Regions from separate parts of the Homo sapiens genome. Here region 1 is linked to region 2. The links are contacts of gene promoters, found by promoter capture Hi-C in human tissues and cell types (Jung and others, 2019). All regions are on one chromosome and are shown on one strand. The core of a region is centred on a gene start or on the middle of the fragment in contact, and the rest is flanking DNA. Distances in the headings are between cores, read along the strand shown.

Region 1 (6,849 bases), core at 2,845-5,344, 250 kb after region 2:
TTTGTTATCTGTCTTTCTCCAATATATAAGTTTTCTGAGGGCAAGTACTTGGTCTATTTCCTTCATTACTATATCCTCAAGTTCTAGAACAGTGCTTGAATCATAATAGGTTCACTAAATATTTGGAAAATGAGTACTCTACATGTCATTTCAACTTTTTGGTTTTAACTAATCCTGTCAGAGCAGCTAGAATACAGCCAAACTAGGTGATTCAGATTCCCAATCTTCATCCTATAGCTGTGTACCAAATTCTGACTGAGGTTCTATTATAGAGTGGTATAAATGAATAATGAATAGGCTATGGGAGAAAGAAGTTAATATACTAAACCAAAAACTAGATAACTGATTTTAAATTATTTAACATTTAATTATATTTTGTAACTGGAAGATATTACGCTATCACTTCCTATTTGTTTTTATAAGTTGTGGTTTTTGATAGTCAGGTTTTTAATAGAAGCAATTTCTAATATCTACCTATTTTCAAGTTTGTTCTCTTCAATAGATATAGACTTGATTCATAATCATATTAGCATCTTACCTACCTATGTTCTTTGGTGATTTGTTTTTAGATAAAAAACTGTTTTTCATGATGTATAAATTTTAATAAAAAATTTGAGAGCTCTAAAAGGTAATTGATAATGTTAAATCCTCTTGGTTAACTAAAAAAAACTCAGTCTTTGAAAAATAAAGACCTTTTTTTTTCATTTCAAGGGATGGAGAGAGGAAAAGTATGAGCGTTGAGAGGTAATGTTTTATTATTTATTGTTAATTGTGCATAATTCATGTTATTTTAAACTAATATTGAATTAATTTTTAGTAAATATCACTGAAATAAGAAATCTATTTGCAAATTACTATAACAGTTTTTAGTAGTTTACACTCCCTGCAATAAATGCCTTAGTATAAGACTATTATTTTCAGTTGCTATAATCTCAAAAATTAACTTCAGCTATTTTTTAATGTTGGTTTTAATCCTACCTAGTGAAAACCAAGCATTTTAGAATTTCATATCTTAATTTCTAGCTTGTTTATAAGGACAATTGAGTATTTACTTCGGAAATTTAAGAAGTAACAATGGGAATTCTTCCTAAAATTCTTTCAACATTGGTGATTAAGCAGAAGCTTAATCAAACAGTAAAATATTACTGATAAAAGAGAGCTTAAAGATGATCTAGTTTAGTGGTTTACAATCCTGTTTGAAAACCAAATGAAATAATGATGGAAACTTACCGTTTGGGGAAATAAGTCATTGTTTGAAACATCCCTCAATTATCTCCTCAAAGCAGCAAGTTTCCACTGAGACATTTAAGAAACACTGACCTAGGGCCCGGCAAGGTGGCTCACCCCTGTAATCCCAGCATTTTGGGAGGCTGAGGTGGGCAGATCACTTGAGGCCAGGAGTTCGAGACCAGCCTGGCCAACATGGCAAAACCCTGACTCTACTAAAAATACAAAAATCAGCCCGGTGTGGTCGCTTAAACTTTAATCCCAGCTACTTGGGTGGCTGAGGCACAAGAATTGAACCCAGGAGGTGGAGTTTGCAGTAAGCTGAGATGGCACCACTCACTCCACTCCAGCCTAGGTGACAGAGTGAGACTCTGTCTCAAAATCAAAACAAGACAAAACAAAACACTGACCTAGTACAAGATTGTGTTCATATTTCACATATATTATTTGTGGTCAGAAAAGCTGATTAACTTTTACAATACAACATAATAAATGGCTTTGATAAAAATTGCTATTTTAGGTTTTGGTCCATATGAAAGCAATCAAAGAGAGAGAGAAAAAAAAAATCCAAAAGCAAAATAGTATTGCCATATTTGATAAATTTCTCTGCCATTTTCTCTGCTATTGGGAAAACTATTTTATGTACAGGAATGTGTTCTCCACTTTTTTTTTCTGGAAACTTTCTCCCCTTGGCTTTCTAAAATGGGCAATATAACATCAAATTTGGTATGAAGTTGGGGGAAAGGAGGTTGCAATTTATATCACAAACTAACTAACTTCTCTAATATAGAAAGAACTCATAATCAATAAAAAGGAACAGTAAGCCAACAGAAGAAATGAACAAAGTTCTAAATAATTAACAGAAAAGGAAATACAAATGGCTCTTAAAACAAGTGAAATTACTACCATTTTCATTTATAATTAAAGAAATACAGATTGAAAGTTCTCTCAGATACCTTTCTTTCACTAGTCAGGTTGGCAAAGATTCTAACATACTCTATTGGCAAGACTGTAGGAGTGAAAAATGTGTAAACTTTAGAGGGAGTACATTAGGTTTTTTTATTGCTATTAAAACAAATTTCTACAAATTTAGTGGCTCAAAACAAAACAAATTTATTCTCTATCATTCTGAAAGTCAGCGGTTCTAAAGTTAATGTGTTGGTAGAGTTCCATTTCTTCTAGAAGCTCTGGGAGAGAGTCCATTTCTTTATGAAAAGCTTCTAGAGGCCACAGAATCTTTGGCTCATAGCCTCAGCAACTTCTTTCTCTGACTCTAACCCTCCTGCCTCCTTCTTATAAGGACCCTTGGGATTACGTTGGGCACAGCTGGACATTCCAGAGTAATCTCTGTCCGTCAGAATTTAATCACCTCTGCTAAATCCCTTTTGTCATGTAAGATACTAGGTTCACAGATTCCAGGGATTAGGATGTGGACATCTTTAGGGACCATTATCTAGCCTACCACAGGGGGTAAGAAATTTCATAATATGTATCAAAATCACAGATACACATGTACTTTGATGCCATAATTCTTTTACTAAGAATTAATTCCACAGATTTAGTCACATGTCATTTTACATATATACAGGGTTACTCACTGCATTTTTTATGATAGAAAAAAACTGTAATATCCATGAATAGAGAATTGGTTAAATTACCTTACATCATTAAATTAGAATATTATGCTGCTGTATAAAAATGAGGAAATCATTTACTCATGGGGAACTCTCACCATGATAAATTGAGAAAAGCAGGGTACTAAACAATGTATCTAAAATTCTACTGTTTATATAAAAAATGAGAGGAAAATGTCTTCTTGTTTGCTTATTTTATATATATACACACATACACACACACACACACACACACACACACACACACACACACACACACACACGTGGAATATTTCTTTTTTTTGTTTGTTTTTGAGAGGGAGTCTCGCTCTGTCGCCCAGGCTGGAGTGCAGTGGTGCGATCTCGGTTCACTGCAAGCTCCGCCTCCTGGGTTCTCGCCATTCTCCTGCCTCAGCTTCCCGAGTAGCTGGGACTACAGGCGCCCGTATACGTGGAATATTTCTAAGGAATTCATAAGAATAAGAAGCTGACACATTGGTTGCCACTAGGGAAGAGAACTGAGTAGCTGAGGATAAGGTTAGAAGTAGAAAGGGGACTCTTTACTGAAGAGTCACTTGCTCAGGGTCCATACTCATCATTCTGGTCTCTTTGTATTATCCTCTTTTAAGTTAATATCACTTGTCAACTTCTTTCAACACTTTTTTGCAGATGAATTCAAAATACCTACATTTAATCTTATCAGCCTTCTATTTTCAGCTGTCTATTAAACAACTCTGCGTAGGTTCCATGAGCCAACCCCTTAAATCTACTTAAAGATGTTTCTCATCCATAAAATCCATGTGCAGTAATTGGAATGATGTTCTCATTTGGACTTTCTTAAGATAATCTTCTGTAATAAAGTCTATATATACATATACCCTAATCTGTTTTAAGTTCTGGAGGCATTACCATTATCTGTTGGTAATTTTAATTATCTTTTTTGTGATATAATAGAGCAAGAGCATAAAATTGTTTCTTTGCTAATCAAGCTTTCCTGTTTAGGTGGGTTTCCATTATTTATATAGATCTTAGATGTTTTTACTTAATTAAATTTTAGTTCATCTGAAAACTTTATTTTGTAATACAGAAAAATATAACTTAATGCTAGCCATATAAACATGCATACCATTTCCAAATTATCCTGGATTATAGTTTACTTTGTGCGCCAAAATTATTCTTGTCTTTCTAGGACATTCAGTGAGATAAATAAAGCGGAAGAGCAATACAGCCTATGTCAAGAACTTTGCAGTGAGCTTGCTCAGGATCTACAGAAAGAAAGACTTAAGGTGCTTTATTTTGATATGGTGTCCTTAGTTTTTAAGTTTTTTAATAGTAAAATGCTACCTTAAAAGCTAGAGTTAGATTACACATTTCTTAAAGATGAATACAAATTAATAAACGTCAGAATAGTGTATTCCTATCCCCAACAGTCAGATACAAATCCAATTCTGACCCATATCTGGAGTCTGTGATGAGGTGATTCTATGAAGAAGCACCTTATGAGAATAGAGTGGTTCAGTATAATTCAGAGGACTTTACTTCTGTACCTCAGGAGTACATTTGAATAAGTTAAAACCAAAGTTACACTGGCATTAGAGAATAAGGCAAAAGAAAGGATTTCCAGAGAATTGTATTCACATATTACAAATGTCTTTCCAATCATCCTTTAATGTTTTTCTTACTTAGACAATGACCTTCTAAAATAGGCATTTTGTTTCAAGGTTGTAGTCCAGGTTGCTTAACACAGGACAACAAAACCTATAAGGCTTTGAACTTGCTATTTTATAATCTTCACTCACAACAATTTATATTTAGTGTATTCCCAACACTCTCAAACCAGAGGTAGAGTCAGTACAAAGCGTAATAAAAAGGTATTTTAAAATTGCTACACAGGTACAAATATCTGGTTTGATAGAAGAAATAAGACCTAGTGTTCAATAGATCAGTAAGGTGACTATAGTGTACAGTAATCTGTGTTACATACCAGAATAGCTAGAAGAGAATAATTTGAATGTTTCTCGCATAAAGAAAATACAAATATTTAAGGTGATAGATATCCGAAGTACACTTATTTGATCTTTACAAAGATCAAAACTATGAGGTACATGTGATAATTTACTATGTTCATATAATGCATCAGTAAAACTATTATGCTAATCAGTAAAAAATTTGTTTTAAAAAAATTACTACAAAGAGTGGAATATCTGATGAGTATCTTTCTCTATCATACCTTGAATTTAAAGAATTTTCTTTTTAAAAAATATTTAAATAAACATTTAATTTTATGATCATTTTAGATTTCCAGAAAAGTCACAAAAATAATAGAATTTCAGCATACTCCTCACCTGGTTTCCTCCATTATTAACATATTACCAGAGTACATTTGTCAAAAATAAGAAACTGACATTTAATACATTGTCAATTATTAACCCCAGACTTTATTTGGAGTTTACTTATTTTTCCATTAATGTCGTCTCTGCCTTCCAGAATTCAGTCCAGGGGACTACATTGCATTTAGCTGTCATGTCTCTCCAGTTTCCTGGTCTGTGATAGTTTCTTAGTTTTTCCTTCTTTTTCATGACCTTGACAGTGTTGGGTAGTACTATACAGGTATTCTGCAGAATGTCGCCCAATTTGGGTTTGTCTGATGATTTTCTCATGATTAGATCAGGGTTATGGATTTTTAGAAAGAGTATCACAAAGAGGAAGTGTCCTTCTCATAACATCCTATCATGGGGTGTATAATAGCCACATGATGTCATGGTTGATATTAACCTTCATCACTTGGTTAGTGTTTGCTAGGCTTCTCCACTGTGAAGTTAGTGTTTTTCCCTTTGGAAGTAAGTCAGTAAATCTAACTACCCTCAGATGAGAGAGAGCAGGAATTAACTTCCTCCTCCAGGGGATACTAAAATATACATAACATAAAATTTACATTTTAACCATTTTTAAGTGTACAGTTCATATTGTTTTATAACCATCACCACCACCCATCTCTAGAACTGTTTCATTGTCTCCACTGAAACCCTGCACTCATAAAACACTAAGTGTAAAGGGAATTCTTACATTAAATTGTTTGGCATAGCATCTGGCAATGCAGAAGGCACACAATAAGTGTGAACTATTCATAAGTCGTTTTCAGTGAGACACTTTTAGAAAGATTTTTTTCCTTCCTTTGTAGGTAATTAATCAACCTCCAAAAGAGATTCAGTAAAAATAAAAGTGATCATTTAACCTTTCCCTCTTGTAATGGTCTTTTATAAAAATTCAGTTGGGGGGCCAGGCACGGTGGCTCATTCCTGTAATCCCAGCTCTTTGGGAGGCCAAGGCAGGGGGATCACCTGAGGTCAGGAGTTTGAGACCAGCCTGGCCAACATGGTGAAACCCCATCACTACTAAAAATGGTGGCGGGCACCTGTAATCCCAGCTACTCTGGAGGCTGAGGCTGGAGAATCACTTGAACCTGGGAGGCAGAGGCTGCAGTGAGCCAAGATCCCGCCACTGCACTCCAGCCTGGGCATCAGAGTGAGACTCTGTCTAAAACAACAAAAAAAAAAACAAACAAAAAAATTCAGTTGGGAAGGGGAATAAAAATTACTGGCTAAAATGGGATTTTAGGTCAGGCATAGTGGCTCATGCCTGTAATCCCAGCACATTGGGAAGCTGAGGCCAGAGGATTGCTTGAGCCCAGGAGTTCAAGACCAGCCTGGACAACATAGCAAAATCACGTCTCTACAAAGAAAATGTAAAAATTAGCTGGGCATGGTGGCACGAGTGTGTAGTCCCAGCTACTTGGGAGGCTGAGGTAGGAGGATAGCATGAGCCTGGGAGGTCAAAGCTGCAGTGAGCCACGATCATGCCACTGTACTCCAGCCTGGGCAATAGAATGGGACCCCCATCTCAAAAACAAAATAAAATGGGATTTTAGCTTATGTTTGGAAAGGGAAGTAAACGTTTTTGGCTAAAATGGTATTTTAATTATTCTTTTTTTTTCTGAGACAGAGTCTTG
Region 2 (6,229 bases), core at 3,399-5,898:
TCTGTTTCTGTAGCTTCATCCTTTGTAAAATGCAGATTCTACTATTGTTCTCCTCAGTGGACTTTTAATAAAAGGAGTTAATATATCAAAAGCACTTAGACAAGTGGCTGACATATAGAAGCAGCAATATAAATATTTTAGTATTATTGTTTTTGTTATAATTCCCCATCTTTAAGCATGACTCATGACAACAAAAACCAGAAATGTTAAGGTTGGAAGCCTAACACATTTATATATGTAAATAGTAAAGAGGATGGATTAAGATGGCAATGTGGGTCATTCATTACTTTTAAAGGGGGTCTTAACATTATACTTTTAGGCGGGTGCGGTAGTTCACGCTTGTAATCCCAGCACTTTGGGAAGCTGAGGCGGGCGGGTTGCTTGAGGTCAGGAGCTCGAGACCAGCCTGGCCAATATGGCGAAACCCCGTCTCTATTAAAAATACAAAAATTGGGCCAGGCGCGGTGGCTCACGCCTGTAATCCCAGCACTTTGGGGGGCCGAGGCGGGCGGATCACGAGGTCAGGAGATTGAGACCATCCTGGCTAACACGGTGAAACCCCGTCTCTACTAAAAATACAAAAAAATTAGCCGGGCGTGGTGGCTGACACCTGCAGTCCCAGCTACTTGGGAAGCTAGCTGAGTCAGGAGAATGGCGTGAACCCAGGAGGCGGAGCTTGCAGTGAGCCAAGATCGCCCCACTGCACTCCAGTATGGGCGACCGAACGAGACTCCGTCTCAAAAAGAAAAACAAAGTGTATGTATACATATACACACACACACACACACACACACACACACACACACACACACACAAATTAGCCGGGCATGGTGGTGCACCCCTGTAATCCCAGCTACCCAGGAGACTGAGGCAAGAGAATCGCTGAACCCAGAAGGCAGAGGTTTCAGTGAGCTAAGATCGTGTTACTGAGAGGTGACAGCGTGCTGGCAGTCCTCAGAGCCCTCGCTTGCTCTTGGCACCTCCTCTGCCTGGGCTCCCACTTTGGCAGCATTTGAGGAGCCCTTCAGCCCCCCCCTCCACTGCACTGTGGGAGCCCTTTTCTGGGCTGGCCAAGGCTGGAGCCCACTCCCTCAGCTTGCAGGGAGGTGTGGAGGGAGAGGCGTGAGCGGGAACCGGGGCTGCGTGCGGCGCTTGCGGGCCAGCTGGAGTTCCGGGTGGGCGTGGGCTTGGCGGGCCCCACACTCGGAGCAGCCAGCCAGCCCTGCTGGCCCCGGGCAATGAGGGACTTAGCACCCAGGCCAGTGGCTGCGGAGGATGTACTGGGTCCCCTAGCAGTGCCAGCCCACCGGCGCTGCGCTCGATTTCTCACGGAGCCTTAGCTGCCTTCCCGCAGGGCAGGGTTCGGGACCTGCCGCCCGCCATGCCTGAGCCTCCCACCCACTCCGTGGGTTCCTGTGCAGCCCCAGCCTCTCCGACGAGCACCACCCCCTGCTCCACGGCGCCCAGTCCCATCGACCACCCAAGGGCTGAGGAGTGTGAGCGCACGGCGCGGGACTGGCAGGCAGCTCCACCTGCAGCCCTGGTGCAGGATCCACTGGGTGAAGCCATCTGGGCTCCTGAGTCTGGTGGGGACGTGGAGAGTCTTTATATCTAGCTCAGGGATTGTAAATACACCATTCAGCACCCTGTGTTTAGCTCAAGGTTTGTGAGTGCACCAATCGACACTCTGTATCTAGCTGCTCTGGTGGGGCCTTGGAGAACCTTTATGTCTAGCTCAGGGATTGTAAACACACCAATCAGCACCCTGTGTTTAGCTCAAGGTTTGTGAGTGCACCAATCGACACTCTGTATCTAGATGCTCTGGTGGGGCCTTGGAGAACCTGTGTGTGGAAACTGTATCTAACTAATCTGATGGGGACGTGGAGAACCTTTGTATCTAGCTCAGGGATTGTAAACGCACCAATCAGTGCCCTGACAAAACAGGCCACTCGGCTCTACCAATCAGCAGGATGTGGGTGGGGCCAGATAAGAGAATAAAAGCAGGCTGCCTGAGCCAGCATTGGCAACCAGCTCGGGTTCCCTTCCACACTGTGGAAGCTTGGTTTTTTTGCTCTTTGCAATAAATCTTGCTACTGCTCACTCTTTGGGTCCACGCTGCTTTTATGAGCTGTAACACTCACCACGAAGGTCTGCAGCTTCACTCCTGAGCCCAGCAAGACTAAGAGCCCACTGGGAGGAACGAAAAACTCCGGACGCGCTGCCTTAAGAGCTATAACACTCACCGCGAAGGTCTGCAGCTTCACTCCTGAGCCAGCGAGACCACGAACCCACCAGAAGAAAGAAACTCCGAACACATCTGAACATCACAAGGGACAGACTCCAGACGCGCCACCTTAAGAGCTGTTAACACTCACCGCGAGAGTCCACGGCTTCATTCTTGAAGTCAGTGAGACCAAGAACCCTCCAATTCCGGACCCATTACTGCACGCCCGCCTGGGCTCTGTCTCTAAAAATAAAAAAATTATACTTTTATAAACTCTTTCCTTGAAGGGTTAAATGCATATGAGGAAGCGGCACATGGACTTCCTTGGCGCTTCCCCCACCCTCCCTTTCTACCTTGTGTCCATACCAAATTTTGTGATTTATCACTAAGTACAAATTATTAGTTAAGTGCTATAAAGATTCTTTTGAAATACCTTTTGGGAAGGATATAGAATTTATTTTAAGAGCATAAAACTAGACAACTGGTGTTTCTTTATTGCTTGCTTTGGAACTCATATTCCTATTGGAGTTCCCAATTAGGCAGTTTGCGAATGAAAATTTCTAAATCTTGGGCTAAAGCCTGTTTTGGTAACAACTTTAGTCCTTATTTGAATTACATTAGTAGGCATGTGTACAACCTGTAACTTCTGAGATATTTGGTCCTTGAGACTTCTAGCGGCATTAAAAATATGACAGGTTCTAGGCTCTCGGTACTTACACACTTTTCTCTCTTTTTTTTTTTTTTTTTTGACAAGGCTGCTAAGAGAACACTGCAATCTTTGGGTAGTTCACCCGTTTTCTTTACTGTGCAAGGTTCATAAAGGCAGGCACTATGTCTGTCATGTTTGTCACTATATCTCCCATGCCAACCACAGTGTGTACTTCACATAATGAGCATTTCAAAGGCAACATTTGGTAAAGAGATATGAATGAAGGTCTTACACTGAAGCAGTGGGGAACAGTAGAACCAGCCTAAGCATTAGATCTGGGTTCAAATTCCAGTTTTGCTCATTATCTATGTGATCTACAGCAAGTTGCTTGACAAACTTTAATTTTTACTTTTTTGTAAAATGGGAATAATACCTATTATATAAGGATTATAAGAATCTATAATCATTTATTAAAACTAAGGAGTGTTTAGTGTTTTCTTCGTAATGTGTTTCAAAATATGGGCTTTAAAAATTGAGTGAAATACAATTCCTGTCCTTAATAAATTTCCACATACGATAGTAAGACAAATAAAAAAATACTACGGAAATTTTATGGGTTTTCAAGGTCGGGAGTGATGATGTGTTTGAGGGAATTAGGAAAGGAGGTGGCATATGAAAAAGTCCTTAAGGGATATTTAGGATCTCAGCAGTTAAAATGGGTAGGCATATCCAAGGTAAACAAAGAGAACATAAGCAGGGAGGTAAAAAGGTACTGAGTGTGACTGAAGAAGGGCCAGTTACTCCTGGCTGAACTGTAAGGTTCGCACAGGAAAGTAGAGATACGTCAGAAATGTGTGGTGGGGCCATATTAGTGGTGACAGGTTCTTTCTTTAATCCAGTAGACAATGAGAAACGCTGATTTGGGTCTATGGCATAATAGGAAGTAGTATGCCACATACTGCATGTGGGAGTTCTGCAGGACAGATTGGGAAGTGCATGCGTGTAAGACTGGGAAGACCAGTTAGGAGAGGCTATTGCACTGTTTTAAGTAAGACATAATAAAGCCCTGCACCAGGCGGAGAGCAGAAGGAACGCACAGAAGACGCAGGAGAGGCACATTTCAGAGAGAATCCAGTATGCAATGGATGTCGCACACAAGAGAGAGAGACGCAGGTGACCGGAGCCATTTACACTAATGGGTAAATCTCGGGAAAGCGCTGGTTTCGGCTACCGGCCAGTTACAGGTTTGAGGTGCCCGTCGCCGCCACCTTCCCTTTTTTTATATTCCTCTTTTTCTCATGGCCGCCTCCGCTTCCCTCCATCTCTCCCGCGCTAGTAACTGAGCTTTCAGTCATCGACCTGACCCTGCGTTTTCCCTCACGCTCCGATTCTGCTTCCTATCACTGCCTCCTACTGTACTATCACAGCCAGGACGAGCACGGGTCAGGCACTGAGGCTGTGGGACACTCCACCCGCCTGGTCCCCTATCGCCTCCGCCTAGGCAGCTGCCATGCGTGCGCCCCCACAGCTCTAGGACCAATAGGCAGGCCCTAGTGCTGGGACTCGAACGGCTATTGGTTGGCCGAGCCGTGGTGAGAGATGGTGCGGTGCCTGTTCTTGGCCCTGCAGAGAGCTGTGGGCGGTTGTTAAGGCGACCGTTCGTGACGTAGCGCCGTCAGGCCGAGCAGCCCCCAGGCGATTGGCTAGACAATCGAACGATCCTCTCTTATTGGTCGAAGGCTCGTCCAGCTCCGAGCGTGCGTAAGGTGAGGGCTCCTTCCGCTCCGCGACTGCGTTAACTGGAGCCAGGCTGAGCGTCGGCGCCGGGGTTCGGTGGCCTCTAGTGAGATCTGGAGGTGAGGCGGGCGGTGACCGAGAAGAGGGGCAGGGGCGGCGGGGAGCGGGGCGGAGATGGGTGGGAGCGGGGTTTGGGCTGTGTTGGTGGCAATTCTGGAGCTTCCCTCGGCCCTGGGAAGTGGCTACCGGCAGCTCCTGCGGACCTGGAGGGGGCTGCGGTTGCGCTTTGTCGGTGTGGCAGCTCGGACCCGCGGGGACTGCAAGGAATGTCCTTGAGGCCCGGCAGGCCGAGCGGCGGCCGGCATCAGTGCCGGAGTAACCCGGGGTCCCGGGGTGGGCTTGAGAGGCGGGCGGCGGTCTGGCCTCTTCGTGACTGCGGTCATCATCGGTGGACCCGCGGGGCGTAGCTGCGTTCATCGTCCCTGTTCAGTCAGAGTAGGCAGTGCTGGCTGCACGGTCACGAAAATCGGGGCGGAAAGGGTGTCAGGCAGGGTGACCTCGGAGGCCCCTGGATTCGAGAAATGCTAGGGGTCTATGGGGCTGTCGGGCCGGCAGCTCGCAGGGCAGACGGGAGAAGCGCCTGCATCCCGGGATCCGGGCATTCACGCCCAGGAACTGCTGTTCGTTAGCACCTTTCTTTTAGGTGACGGGAAAGATCTCTGTAAATACTGCTGACTAACTTAGAACCATGAAAGAACCGTGGATTGGTGTAGATGTGTCTGGTTATTTACAGGAGAACGGCTTGAGAGGATGCGGAGCCCAACGTGGGGATTCGCACAATGACTCAAAAGATTCTTCTCCCTCTTTTTTTTTTTTTTTTTTTGGTAAGGGGTGTAGTCTCCTTGGTGCTGATATTCTTTTAGGAAAAATGTACCTTGGAGATACAAATATAGAACAGTTAATTTCTGCAGTAGGAGGAGGTCGATGTACTCCATTCTTAAGTAGTCGTTTGAAATATTTCAGGATTTGAGGATATTCCTTCTTAGACATGGTCCTGCAGAGTCGTAGGAAGCATTTGTTTCTGGGCTATACTAAATGTGCATGATTTCGGCGTCCCACAAGGTAGAGAATGTACTTTTTGTTTACTTATGAATTTATTTTCCTCTCCATGCAGTGAAAGGCATTTTGCAATTTAGAGATAATCTAGCAAAGACCTGGACAGTACTTTGGGGATAGGCTGGATTTTGCAGGCCTGCTTTGTTGTAGTGTTCTTCCAGAACTTATGATAAACTTGGTGGCCAAAACAAATGGGAATTAGTAACATGAAGGTTAAACAAAATTGCACATAGGTTACAGCATTAACATGAAAATTGTCGGGTATGTGGGATAACCATTTCAAGATAAGAGTGTGAGTATGCGTGCATGCACACACTCTTTGTATTCCTTTATGGTCTAGTTTCTAGACTATAGATAGCCACATTATGGAATTACATGGTCTACTTAGGTTGACCCATGTGAAATTGCCAGTATTTAAAATTCAACTAACCTACAAAAATAGCAGTTTCATATGATTCCATTTAACACTTATCTTTGTCAGAGAACTTTGGAGCTCTAGCTTC

What was found. Contacts are between HindIII fragments. The study calls those that stand out against the background at their distance.
Region 1: a fragment that was not itself captured here is called in contact with the fragment with the promoter of HMGCR in region 2 in 1 of the 25 tissues and cell types used here (lymphoblastoid cells).

Annotation. Positions count from the first base shown.
Region 1 is chr5:75,586,315-75,593,163 of GRCh38, forward strand. POLK (DNA polymerase kappa) reads left to right here. Exons shown (of 15, transcript NM_016218.6): 10 at 712-744; 11 at 4,030-4,126. Among named protein-coding and RNA genes, the nearest start is that of ANKDD1B, 22 kb to the right of the region's middle. RefSeq lists an enhancer at 2,317-2,901. The HindIII fragment of the contact is 4,623 bases long and covers 1,784-6,406 here.
Region 2 is chr5:75,332,572-75,338,800 of GRCh38, forward strand. It overlaps HMGCR (3-hydroxy-3-methylglutaryl-CoA reductase), which reads left to right and starts at 4,649. Exons shown (of 20, transcript NM_000859.3): 1 at 4,649-4,729. RefSeq lists enhancers at 4,560-5,120, 5,121-5,679 and a silencer at 4,761-4,880. The HindIII fragment of the contact is 13,606 bases long and covers 1-6,229 here.